3 separate regions of the Homo sapiens genome follow, and regions 1 and 2 are each linked to region 3. The links are contacts of gene promoters, found by promoter capture Hi-C in human tissues and cell types (Jung and others, 2019). All regions are on one chromosome and are shown on one strand. Each heading gives the region's core, a stretch centred on a gene start or on the middle of the fragment in contact. The rest is flanking DNA. Distances are from core to core; before and after follow the strand shown.

Region 1 (4,389 bases), core at 848-3,347, 410 kb after region 3:
CCGTGCCCGGCACTTCTTGTCTCTTTTGAAACATCAGACTCATATAGTCAAGTTACCAGCTGGGTATCCCATGAACACCACAGCTCCTACATGGACAAAACTACTCTCATTGTCTCTACCTCTCCTCCCCTCCTAACCCAGACCTGTTTTCCCTCATGGTCTCTGTCTCAGTAAAGGTACCACCACCCACACAGCTGTACAATCTTGAAGCTCTAGACTTTTCCTTCTCCCGACCCCCATAGCTACTTCTCTGGTTTAAGACTCCTTCATCAGCCAGGTGCGGTGGCTCACGCCTGTAATCCTAGCACTTTGGGAGACTGAGGAGGGTGGAACACAAGGTCAGGAGTTTGAGACCAGCCTGGCCAACATGTTGAAACCCCATCTCTACTAAAAATACAACAAAAAAAAAAGACTCCTTCATCATCTGCAGTAGCCTTATAACTGGGTCGCCCTGCCTCAGGCTTACCCCAACTCCAACTTGTTCTACACATTGCAGCCAAAATTAACTTTTTATTATTTTCAAAAAAGTGTTTTTTGTTGTTTTTTTTTTGAGGTGGAGTCTCACTCTGTCACCCAGGCTGGAGTGCAATCATGCAATCTCAGCTCACTGCAACCTCTGCCTCCTGGGTTCAAGCAATTCTCCTGCCTCAGCCTTCCGAGCAGCGGGATTACAGGTGCCTGTCACTACTCCTGGCTATCTTTTGTATTTTAAGTAGAGACGGGTTTTCACCATGTTGGCCAGGCTGGTCTTGGACTCCTGACCTCAGGTGATCCACCTGCCTCGGCCTCCCAAAGTGCTGGGATTATGGGCATGAGCCACTGCACCAGGCCAAAAGTGTATTTTTAAATTATAAAATTGATACATGCTTGTAACAATTTCAAACAACATGGTAGTGTATAATGTGAAAACTGAAGGATTCCCTTGCCTCCTGTTCTCAACTTCATAGTATTGAACAGTTTGCTGTATTGTCCATCAGTCTCTTTCTATGCTTACCCAAACAAATATTAATTGGCCATCTACTGTAGGCTATGTGCCACTTTATTTTCCAGCAATGCAGAACTGCCCATGTTTCTTTGCACATGCCAGGCTCTAGGTCTCCTCCTTGATTTTGCTTATGCTTCCCCTCGCCTTCCCTCCTCTAGGCAGTATCTACTCATCCTTTAAGACTCATCTTGTGTGTTGCTTCCTCCTAGAGGCTCCCACACCCAGCAGGTAGGCCCTTCTTTGCCAAAGTCACTGCATTTTTACACAGCGTTATTATGAGCTCTTTTGTGCTGGTGTCTCTCACTGGGGTGGAGCTTCATGAGGAACAGACTGCCTTATTCTCCTTGGTATTTCCTTCGCTTAGCGTAAGACCTAGCATAGAGTGCTCAATTTGCATGACTGAATGATTATGGCTCTTTTTACTGCCAAGTCTTCTGAAGTGCCAGTGCCGTGGGTTGGGAGGAAGTTAATCCAAGAGGACAGCACTATGAAGCTTCCTGACAGTCAGTACACAGCAAGAATAGGAGACAAGATGGATGGGTGCCAAAGAATAGGAGAAAGAACCCAAGAGTAAGGAAAAAAGCCTGATAGCAACAAAGGAAGGAAAGGAACTAATATTTATGAAGGATGTTCATATTTAGCACTTTGCACATATATGTATGTGTATACACACACACACACACACACACATATATTTTCTTTTTGAGATGGAATCTCGCTCTGTTGCGTGGGCTGGAGCGCAGTGGCCCGTGATCTCGGCTCACTGAAACCTCCGCTTCCTGGGTTCAAGTTATTCTTCTGCCTTAGCCTCCCAAGTAATTGGGATTACAGACACATGCCACCATGTCTGGCTAATTTTTGTATTTTTAGTAGAGACGGGGTTTCACCATGTTGGCCACGCTGGTCTTGAACTCCTGACCTCAAGTGATCCACCTGCCTTGGCCTTCCAAAGTGCTAGGATTATAGGCATGAGCCACCGCTTTTGGCTGCACTATGCGTATTTTTTCTTATTTAATTCTCGGCATTGCCATCCCCAGTTTACAGATGAGAAAACTGAAGATGAGGATGTAAAGTACCTTGCCCAAAGTCAAATATGGAATAGCAGAGCTGAGGTTCAAGCCTATTTCTGTGAGAGTTCCACGTACAAGTTCTTTTTTTTTTTTTTTTTTTTTGAGACACAGTCTCTGTTGCCCAGGCTGGAGTGGTGGCACGATCTTGGCTCACTGAAACCTCCAGCTCCCGGATTCAAGTGAATCTCCTGCCTCAGCCTCCCGAGTAGCTGAGATTACAGGTATGCACCACCACACCCAGCTAATTTTTGCATTTTTAGTAGAGATGAGGTTTCACCATGTTGGCCACGCTGGTCTTGAACTCCTGACCTCAAGTGATCCGCCCTGCTTGGCCTCCCAAAGTGCTGGGATTACAGGTGTGAGCCACCGCACCTGGCCTCCATGTACAAGTTTTTATGCACTGTGCACACTGATGATCAGGCAGGTATAATGTGGTCAACACCTACCAATTCTCTAGACCCTTTAGGGATGCCTGAAAAAGGTCTGTGTCCAGCAGCTTCTGAATAGACACCTAAAGGCCTTCAGCCTCTGGGGAGATAGACAGTGACAGATTTGACATCCAGATCTTCAGACATGGTGATCCTTTACACTTCCAAATGCCCTGAAAGGGGTGCTAAGATCCCGGAATATATACCACTAAGAGTTAGTCTCCTAGGTTCTGGAGGAGGCCAACAAAAATCACCTTTGGGATGTCTCACTCAGCCAAGCTTTCCCTAATCTTCAGGCAGCTGTGTCCTCCTTGGTCTCTTGGTCTCTCCCAAGCCCTGGTTGCTGTGTCTTTTCAGGACCTGCCAGCCAGAGTACACATGTGGGGCAGAGTCCGTCATCTCTGCAGGCCCAACAGCCTGGGGTCCCAGTCTTTTGATACCTGTGCTTTGGGTATTTCTTGGCAGTTGTGAGCACCGTGAAATTGAGGAGGACACTGCAGGACTGGGGTCAGGGGCTAAGGAGTTGCTGGAGTATGGAGCTATGTACAGGGGCAAGGCTGACTCACAGGGGATGCCAGCCCTTCAATCCACAGATGTTTACTGATACTACTTAGGTATTGTTTGGTTTTTGAGGGCAGGGATGCCAGGCCTGAGAGAAGCACTGATAGTAATAATAACAGTTACTTTTTATCCAGACTATCTATATGTCAGAGACCATACATATACCCTGTTGTATAACCCTTCAACAACTCTGAAAAAGAGCTATTAATAGCTGTATTTTATAGATTATAAAATTAGACATTAAAAAAACTGAAGCTCAGAGAGGTTGTCCAAAATCATTGAGGGACAGTGTTGGGATTTGAACTCGATCCCAGGTCTGTTTATCTGAAGCTTGTGCTAAACTGCCTAGGAGATATAAATTCCATCCCATCACCAAAGAGCTCACAATCCTTGTCTGCTCTCTGCTCACCCATTCAGCACGTTCTCTTGTCATCTCTTATCACTCTGTGCACTAGGCATACTGAAATCCTAGCAGTTCTTGCATGCATTATATTATCTCTTACCTCCAAGCTTTGTACCTTTGTTCCCTCTGCCCAGAATGTCTTCTATCCCTCTTTTCCTGTTAACTCCTTTCTCACTTTCAGGTCTCAGCTTGACTGTGACCTGGCTCTCCAGTTCTGGGTACTTCACACCCATGTGTAGGGGGCATTTGCTAGTTAGCTCCCTACTTCTATTTCCCTTCTTCCGTCTCTCTCTCTCTCTCTTTTTTTTTTTGAGATGGAGTTTCACTCTTGTCACCCAGGCTGGAGTGCAATGGCGTGATCTTGGCTCACCGCAACCTCCGCCTCCCAGGTTCAAGCGATTCTCCTGCCTCAGCGTCCCGAGTAGCTGAGATTACAGGCGACTGCCACTGTGCCCAGCTAATTTTTGTATTTTTAGTAGAGACAGGGTTTCACCATGTTGGCCAGGCTGGTCTCGAACTCCTGACCTCAGGCGATCTGCCTGCCTCGGCCTCCCAAAGTGCTGGGATTACAGGCATGAACCACCTCGCCCAGACTTATTTTCCTTCTTCTCTTGCAGGCAGTTCTTGGATTCCCATTTGGGAAATTCACTCTACCCCCTCATTGGTACGACTGACTCTTCTCCCCAAGCTCCAGGCAGGGGTCTGATTGTTTAAGCCAATCAACATATCCCATTCTGCCTATCACTGTGATCAGTTCAGGGACAGAGGTATACTCACAACTACTGAAATAAGGAAAAACTACAGATTTTGAGAGTTAGTTACCCAAAGAGTCATCTTCTTTTCTATGAGACTGACTGAGATAGGATGTAGATATTTGGACTGGCTATGGGCAATCCAGAATTTAACAGAGGAGGGGCTTAAGGAGTGACAGTCTGATGGTAG
Region 2 (4,710 bases), core at 1,645-4,144, 310 kb after region 3:
AGCAAAGTAAGGAGCATAATATGTTGAAGAGTGTGTCTAGTAAGACAAAGCCAAACCAGTTATTCTTTTCCTATTTCTAAACTTTGAAAGAAGTTTCTCTTATGGGTCTATATGAAGAGGATAAGAAAATGTACTAAACAGGAAAGTGTTAGGCTAATGGTCTAACATATAAAGAGCAATTTTGTAATGGGCAAAAACAGTGGGATCTAAATACATAACTTACTGGTCATCTGGTTAGATCAAGAGGTATGCTAGTGGAAGAATGAATGGCAGTTGCATGTCTTTCCAACAATCTTTTATAGATATTATTTCTTAGACTTTTATTTAGGATACATTTTTATTGAAGTATGAGATATGTACAGAAAAATACACACCATAAGTATCTAGCTTGATGAATTATCACAAAAATGAGCATGCCCATTTAATTTCAACTCAGGTGAAGAACTGGAACATTACCAGAATTTCAGAAGGCCCTCGTTACTCCTCCCACACTCTCTCTCTCATCTCCTCATTTTCCTGACTTCTAACATGACAAACGAGATCCCTGGTTTTTAACATTTTACTAATGAAATCATATAGAATGAGTTATTTGGGGTTTTGGATCTTTCACTCAATGCTGAGATTTACCCACGTAGTTCCATGCAGCAGTAGTCTGTTCATTTTTGCTACTGTATAGTAGTATCTCATATGAATATATTGTAGTTTGTGCATTTGACTATTGTAAACATTTGAGTTATTTCCATTTGGGGTTATTATGAATAAAACTGTTATGAGCCCTGTTATAAAATTTTTGGTGTAATGTATTTACTTCTATTTTTCATATGCCTAGGAATGGAATTGCTGGGTGACTACTATAATTGTTCAAGCCAGGACACTTTTGAGAATGAAAATAATTAAAAATTACTGTGTAACAACAGGCATAAGCCAGGACTGTCCCAAGCACACTGAAGTGTATAGTTATTCTAGGTATAAAGTGTGTAGACATTCAACTTTAGTCGATACTGCGAAGCCATTTTCCAAAGTGCTTATACCAGTTTACACTCCCACCAGCAATGTGCAAGACTTCCTATTCCGTATCTTCACTAACGTGATTGGATAGCTGAAAATTCAGTGTTGTATTTTCTATTAAGAACACAGAATTAAGTTATTCAGTGTGGTCAGTTAAGGGACCATTAATTGGCTTTGACAGTTAACTAGGCAGAAGGTAAGGTAAAAGTTCTCTTGCAAAAAGTAAGGAGCCTATTACAAACTCTGTGGAAAATGGTTTGGCAGTATTTACTAAATCTTCTTTATTACGCAGAAGTTACACTCTAGAGAAATGAGTACATATACTGACCAAAAGACATGTTTAAGAATGCTCATAGCAGCATTATATATAATAGATTGGAGACAACCCAAATGGCCATTAACATTAGAAAGGATAAATTATGATGTAATCACAAATGCAATACTATGCCACACCGGAAAAGCATAAGCTACCATGCTATATGCCAACATTGGTGAATCTCACAGACAATGCTGAGTAACAGGATACAGAAACAAATGCATACCATATAATCCTTTATATTAAATACAAGAATAGACAAAACTATTGTGTGATGGTAGATATCAGAATGGTGGTTACCTTTGGACGAGTGTAGGGCAGTTTCTGGAGGAAGACACATGGAAGTCTTCTGGGGAGTGGGAAATGCACTATGGCTCAATCTGGGTGATAATTTCATGACTATGTATGTAAGTAAAATTTTACCAACTTGTACACATAAAATCTGTACATTTTGCTGTGTTATATTTCACTTAAAAATGAGCCTAAATACATACTTTTTTTTTCTTTTCTTTTATTTCTTTTTTTCTTTTTTTTTTTTTTTTTTTGAGACAGTGTCTCACTCTTTCACCCAGGCTGGAGTGCAGTGGCACCATCTCAGCACATTGCAACCTCCACCTCCCAGGTTCAACCGAGTCTCCTACCTCAGCCTACCAAGTAGCTAGGAGTACAGGCGTGTGCCACCTTGCCTGGCTGATTTTTGTGTTTTTAGTAAAGACAGCATTTCACCACTTTGGCCAGGCTGGTCTTGAACTCCTGACTTCAAGTGATCCACCTGCCTCCACCTCCCAAACTGCTGGGATTACAAGCATGAGCCACCGCACCTGGCCCTAAATACATTCTTGAAACACACATAGCCTCAAACTTTTCTCAAGCGGTTTTGCTATTAGAGCGTTATGGCCATAGGAAAAAAACACTGAACATCTTAATCAGTAGACTTCATCTTGGGGGACAGTCAGAGTTACAGAATAATTAAAAATTAAGTGGAAAATTAAGAGAGTTACCGTATGCCCCTTCAACACCTTCTGCCTTTCTCCTGTAATTGACATCCTGCAGTAGCTTAATACATAAGTTACAATTGATGAGCCAACATTGACACATTATTATTAACTGAAGTCCATAGTTTACATTAGGGTTCATTCTTTGTGTTGTACATTCTATATGTTTTGACAAGTGTATAATGACATGTATCCACCATTACAGTAGAATACAAAATGGTTGCACTGCCTAACAATCCCCTGTGTTCCACCTGTTCATCCCTCTTCTCCTTCCTGAACTCCTGCAACCACTGCTTACTGTCTCCATAATTTTTCCTTTTCCAGAATGTCATGTAGTCATAATCATACACTATCTGGCCTTTTTCAGATAAGCTTCTTTTGCTTTGCAATATGCATTTAAGGTTCCTCCATGTCACTCCCCCTAACCCAAACACCCTCATACACTAATATTAAACTGCTTAACAGCTCTTCATTAAACTGCTTAACAGCTCTTCAGACCTACCATGCTCTCTTGCCTCCATATTTTAAGCACATGCTTTCTGTATCTAATTAGGCTTTTCAGATGTGACACCATGTGATAATTTCTAGCTAGAAAGAATAATTGGTGGCTGGGCACGGCGGCTTATGCCTGTAATCCCTACACTTTGGGAGGCTGAGGTGGAAGGATCACCTGAGCCCAGGAGTTCAAGACCAGCCTGGGCAACATATCAAGACCTCATCTCTACAAATAATTTAAAAATTAGCTGGGCGTGGTGGCACATGTCTGTGATCTCAGCTGCTCAGAAGGCTGAGGCAGAAGGCTCACTTGAGCCAGGGAGGTGGAGGCTGCAGTGAGCTGTGATAGTGCCACTGCACTCCAACCTGGATGACACAGGGAGACCCCATCTCAAAAAAAAACAAAAACAATAATAGGTACAGATTCCATTGTTCTAGAAGCCAGAACCCTACTCAAAGTCTTGGAAAGGGCCTGCCCTTAAGAAACATATATTTCATTTGTATGTTTGTGTGTGTATACGTTTATATTAAAGCTCCTGGGTTTCCATAGAGATAATCTTCTGAGACCTATCTAAAACTGGGTTGGTATGGATATCTGGTCTAAGAAAAAAGTAAAAATAAATAAAATGGGAACATAATTACAGCAAAACTTTCCTACTGTTCTAATGAGAGCCTGGGTCCGAAAGAAGCAGTAAACTGATGGTATAATAATAGTACCAGCGTCCGATGAGCTAATCATGAAGAATGTTTTTTAAAATGTTGGCAGTGGTACCTAATCATTTTTATTCCACAAATTTCAAACAAATTATTATAAGAATATTCCAAAAGTCAACCTAAAATTACTAACCTAGTCAACAAACATCAAGATACATTAGTGGGATTTTATCAAAATAGCATTGTTGGCCGGGTGCAGTGGCTCACCCCTGTAATCCCAGCACTTTGGGAGGCCAAGACAGGTGAATCACTTGAGTCCAGAAGTTCAAGGCCAGCCTAGCCAATATGGCAAAACCCCATCTTTACTAAAAATACAAAAATTAGCCAAGTATGGTGACGTAGGCCTGTAATCCCAGCTACTCGGGAGGCTGAGCAGGAGAATTGCCTGAACCCAGGAGGCAGAGGTTGGAGTCAGCCAAGATTGTGCCACTGCACTCCAGCCTGGGCAACAGATTGAGACTCTGTCTCAAAAAAAAAAAAAAAAAAAAGGCATTGTCATTGGCACTGATTCTGAACTGACTCATATCTTATTATAACAAAATGTCCCTTGCAACCTACCACACACGCACACCCCGATGTATGTGTCTCTCCTATGGCTGTTGAGTTGTATTAAAAAATACTTAATCTGGCTGGGCGCCAGTGATTCCTGCGTGTAATCCCAGCACTTTGGGAGACCAAGGCGGGCAGATCACTTGAGATCAGGAGTTCGAGAGCAGCCTGGCCTACATGGTGAAACCCTGTCTCTACCAAAAATACAAAAATTAGCTGGGTGTGGTGGTGGGCACCTATAATCCCAGCTACTGAGGAGGCTGAGGCAGGAGAATTGCTTGAGTCTGGGAGGCAGAGAGCTTACAGTAAACTGAGATCACGCCACTGCACTCCAGCCTGGAACACAGTGAGACTTTGTCTAAAAAAAAAAAAAAAAAAGTAGTTAATCTATCAGTGTCTGTAAACTAAGACTATATTCCTAAGGGTAGACATGTTATTCCTTAAAGAATATGGCTTGTCACCTGGATATGAAGCTGATCCTTGGAATAAAACTTGAAGATTGACACTTAGTAGGAAGAAGAAAAGAAAAGGTTCTGATGCTGTTTCACCCAAACACACATGTTCTCTCAAGTGTAGACTGTGATTGTTGAGATGTCTAAAATTGGGTGGTGCGCTTCAGTGATGAATCCCACA
Region 3 (4,342 bases), core at 1-2,500:
GTAAACAGACAACTGTCACTTGTAGAATCCCAGGTTTCACAAGCAACTAGGGTCAAGAATCTTTTTCCTCTACCTTCCATGTCACAGACTAGTAGTTTCATAAAACAATAAAAATGAATCCTTAGAGAAATATGGAATAAAAGAAACATACAAAATGCAGGCCCCAATTTATTACATTTAACAGGTATAAAATTATTGTTATATTGCTTTCAAAAGGTTTTAAACGCTTTCAATTTCCATATTTGTTTCTTCAAGGACCAGCACCGGTAATTGTGCCAAACTTTTGCGAAGCACTGCTCCAGACAGCAATCAGTGATGCCAAACGTCGGTTTGTTCGGAACACGCTATGTCCCACTTCGAAAACCTAGCCTCAAATAACAACTACGTACCTCTCTCGCTTCCCATGTTATGTTTTTCAAAAGCCTAAATTACCTGCCACAAAGCTTAACTGGGCAAGAGCACATTCAGCAGTAATTCCCCCACTAAAACAGCACTGTTCCCCATCAGCTAAAGCAACATTTCATCCCACCCTTGGGGCCCTACCCCAATAATTAAAAACTCATCCGGCGACGGACTCTAGAGGAAGAGGCAGGAGGCACGTATTCCATGTTAAAGGAGCTTCCGGGGCCCAGGGACCCCTCGGCCTCCAAGCTCCACTGACAATTTTGGCTTAAAAGCCACTTGCTCAGCCCACGGGCACAAGCTTCCTAAATCTAAGACTTGCCGGCTCCGACATTCTCCTGGAAAACCCACGAAGTACTCGGTACTCGGAGGTCGAGTGGGACCCGAGGACCTGCAGCCCCCCTCCATTCTGGCGTTCCCCAGCTAGGCTGAGGTCGACTGCTTGCGACCTCTCACGCCCGGCCGCTTGCCAGCGCCCCCTCACACTAGACGGCAGTATCCGCACTCAGGCTGTCTACTAAACTCACCCTTCTCCCCAATCCGCCGTCCAAGCTCACGCAACCCTTCTTCGCCAACCCCTCCCCCCAAGTTCGCGCACCGGGCGGCAGCCATTTAAGGCCACGCTGGGAACTGCACCTCGACCAAGTCAGAGCTAGCAATCTAACGCCATCCGGCCCCTGCGACGCGCGAGACGGGCCCTAGGCTGGCATACGGGCAAGAAAAGGGAACCTCCATGCATCTAAAGCCCCGAGACCGAGGCATCCACTCACCATCCTGCGGAACAGAGACCGGCGTCCGCTGCTCGACAGAGACCTGCAGGCCCAGCGGCGCTAGGGGGTGGGAAAAGGGCCACAGCCCTTGCGCAGGCGCAGTATGTAGCGCGGACGGTCACGCCAGTGACGTGTGAAAGAGAGAGGGCGTCGGCCACAAGGCGTTTTACGTTCCGCCCCCTGCTGGAAGGAGGGTGAATGCCTGCCCAAGCTCTCCAGGTTCCAATGCTCGGGGTATCTCACAGGATCCGTGCGGTGAGGAGGAGCAGGGAGGATTACTGGAGCCTTTCGCTTTCTTTGCTACAGCGTTTTGTTTTGTTTTGTTTTGTTTTGTTTTGTTTTGTTTTGTTTTGTTTTGTTCATAACGCATTTTGCTTTTCTAAGCAGGAAAAAAAAAAAAAATTAAATAGGACAAGTTTGCTTGGGAGCCCTCTTGCCTTCTCTGGGCTACTCATTCTGGTCCAAGAGCATATGGACCCACCCTCCCATCTCACCCCCAGGAAGCCTTCCCTGAGAGCCCCAAGCCTGGGATAGGGGCCACTCCTCTGCCTTCCTACAGCAGCTTTCTACTGGCTTCAGCCCACCACAGACTGTCAACTTTTCGAGGTGGGCCCTGATGTCCACCTCTGACTCTCCAGCACCTAGCAGGGTATCAGCTGCTCACCGTTAGAGCTGGGAGAAGGGACGGCCAACCAGGATGACAGGGTTAAGTGACTCCAAAACACTGCCACTAGAATAAATCAGGATTAGGATGCCAATTACTTCTGATTCCAACTTGTAATTCCTTATATAATAGGAAAAATAAACAGAGTTCGCTATGGCCGATGTCAACAGAGCTCTAGAGGAGAAAACTTAAAACACTTTTCACAGGAAGTGTGATTCTACTTTTGTGGAGCCACCTTTGAAAGGGTAAAGAAAGAGGTATTCAATTCGTATTTATAGAAAATATTTAAAAACCTTCATTTTGGTGGATTATCAAGTTATTAGCCTACCAAAGGTGCTCCATGTCTTGGTCAGGCCCTGCTTACACTGGAGGCAAAAGCATCAGGAAGGAAAGTCTGCCTGGAAACAGGCCGACTCCTAACTTCTGCATGTTTTAGGGCAAGGGTTCATAGGAAGACCCACATACTATTCATCTGAATATTTAGAAGTTGTGGGCCGGGCACGGTAGCTCAGGCCAGGTGCGGTGGGTCACGCCTGTAATCCCAGCGCTTTGGGAGGCCGAGGCAGGCGGATCGCGAGGTCAAGAGATCGAGACCATCCTGGACAACATGGTGAAACCCCATCTCTGCTAAAAATACAAAAACCAGCCGGGCATGGTGGCACGCACCTGTAGTCCCAGCTACTCGGGAGACTGAGACAGGAGAATCGCTTGAACCCAGGAGGCAGAGGTTGCAGTGAGCCGAGATCACACCACTGCACTCCAGCCTGGCGACAGTGAGACTCCGTCTCAAAAAAAAAAAAAAAGAAAGAAGTCATGAAGCAGGCTGGATGTGCTGGCTCAGGCCTGTAATCCCAGCATTTTGGGAGGCCAAGGCAGGAGGATCACTTAAACCCAGGAGTTCGGGACCAGCCTGGGAGACTTGGTGAGCCCCTGTCTCTATAAAAAATAAAATCCAAAAAAAGAAGTTATGAAACAAACAACATGTTAAATTAAATATACTTTATCATCCTTATCCCTCTCCTTCTTACCTTATAAATCCATAACAAGAAAATTAAAAATATGTATACCTATTCCCCTTGGTCACAGTCAGGGGTCTGTGGCTAGCATGGCTGGTTCAGCCAGTGCAGTTGGTGACACCAGGAGCTAGGGGGTAATTGTCCAGCATCCTCAGCCAACAGCATCTTATTCAAGTGGTAAAAGTTAAAAAACCACCAATAGTGGGATGAATTAACATTATAGGTTCACACCTGTAATCCCAACATTTTGGGAGGCTGAGCCAGGAGGATCACTTCAGCCCAGGAGTTCGAGACCAGCCTGGGCACATAAGAAGACCTCTATCTCTAGGGAAAAAGAAAAAGGAAAGCAAAGAAAAAATAAATTAACATTATATGCCTCCTGATGCACTGAGAAGAACACAAAACACTTCCTACCAAATTTACATAATCTAATCTAAAATAGTTATCTAATATGTACCAACCAAATCTAATCATGATGAAACTACACGTAAATCCAGATTTAGATAATTCTACAAAGTAACTGGCCTGTACTCTTCAAAAATGACAAGATCATGAAAGATAAGGAAAGCCTAAACAATATTCCAGACTGAAAGAGACCAAAGTGACATGACAACTGTATGCAATGTGTGATTCCATATTGCATCCTGGACAAGAAAGGAAAAAGGGAAATAAGAAGTCTTTGTATTTCTTTTGTTCAAAGGACATTGTCAGAACAATCGGTGAAACTTTACTGAAGTCTGGATTAGGTGATAGTAATGAATCAATGTTAAATTCTGATTTTTTTTTGAGATGGAGTTTCGCTCTTGTTGCTGAGGCTGGAGTGCAATGGCGCAATCTCGGCTCACCACAACCTCTGCCTCCTGGGTTCAAGCGATTCTCCTGCCTCAGCCTCCCGAGTAGCTAGGATTACAGGCATGTGCCACTATGCCCGGCTAATTTTGTATTTTTAGTAGAGACGGGGTTTCTCCATATTGATCAGGCTGGTCTCGAACTCCTGACCTCAGATGATCCACCCCCCACCTTGGCCTCCCAAAGTGCTGGGATTACAGGTGTGAGCCACCAAGCCTGGCTAAATTCTGATTTTCATAGGTAGACTGGTTATGAATGAGAGTTCTTTTTTTTTTTTAAGGTAATACACACTGAACTATTTTGGAGTAGTGGGCATTATTTCTGCAACTTGGTCCCAGTAAATGGCTTAGGAAGAAAATTACATGTGTGTATATACATACACATATATGTGCATGTAAAGAGAGAGATTAATAAGGCAAAAATGTGTTAAAATGGTGACAGTGGGGAACTTGGGAGAAGAGTATATGGAAATTCTTTGTACGGTTCTTAACCCAAGCAGTGGTTTTGAAATTATTTCAAAATAAAAAACAAAACATTGGCTGGGTGTCATGGCTCACCCCTGTAATCCCAGGACTTTGGGAAGCCTAAGCAGGTGGATCACTTGAAGTCAGGAGTTTGAGACCAGCCTGGGCAACATGACA

Evidence for each region. The method cuts DNA at HindIII sites, captures the fragments that hold promoters and counts their contacts. A contact is called where the count stands out against the background at its distance.
Region 1: a fragment that was not itself captured here is called in contact with the fragment with the promoter of RPL5 in region 3 in 1 of the 25 tissues and cell types used here (liver).
Region 2: a fragment that was not itself captured here is called in contact with the fragment with the promoter of RPL5 in region 3 in 1 of the 25 tissues and cell types used here (mesenchymal stem cells).

What each region holds. Positions count from the first base shown.
Region 1 is chr1:92,416,796-92,421,184 of GRCh38, reverse strand. No RefSeq gene overlaps it. Among named protein-coding and RNA genes, the nearest start is that of GFI1, 68 kb to the left of the region's middle. The HindIII fragment of the contact is 4,876 bases long and covers 1-4,389 here.
Region 2 is chr1:92,524,574-92,529,283 of GRCh38, reverse strand. The region is part of intron 19 of EVI5 (ecotropic viral integration site 5); the gene reads left to right. Among named protein-coding and RNA genes, the nearest start is that of GFI1, 40 kb to the right of the region's middle. The HindIII fragment of the contact is 4,390 bases long and covers 700-4,710 here.
Region 3 is chr1:92,828,948-92,833,289 of GRCh38, reverse strand. It overlaps RPL5 (ribosomal protein L5), which reads right to left and starts at 1,250. Exons shown (of 8, transcript NM_000969.5): 1 at 1,173-1,250. The coding sequence starts at 1,175. It also overlaps a transcript of DIPK1A not described here. RefSeq lists enhancers at 172-809, 962-1,281, 810-1,448, 1,452-1,501. The HindIII fragment of the contact is 19,619 bases long and covers 1-4,342 here.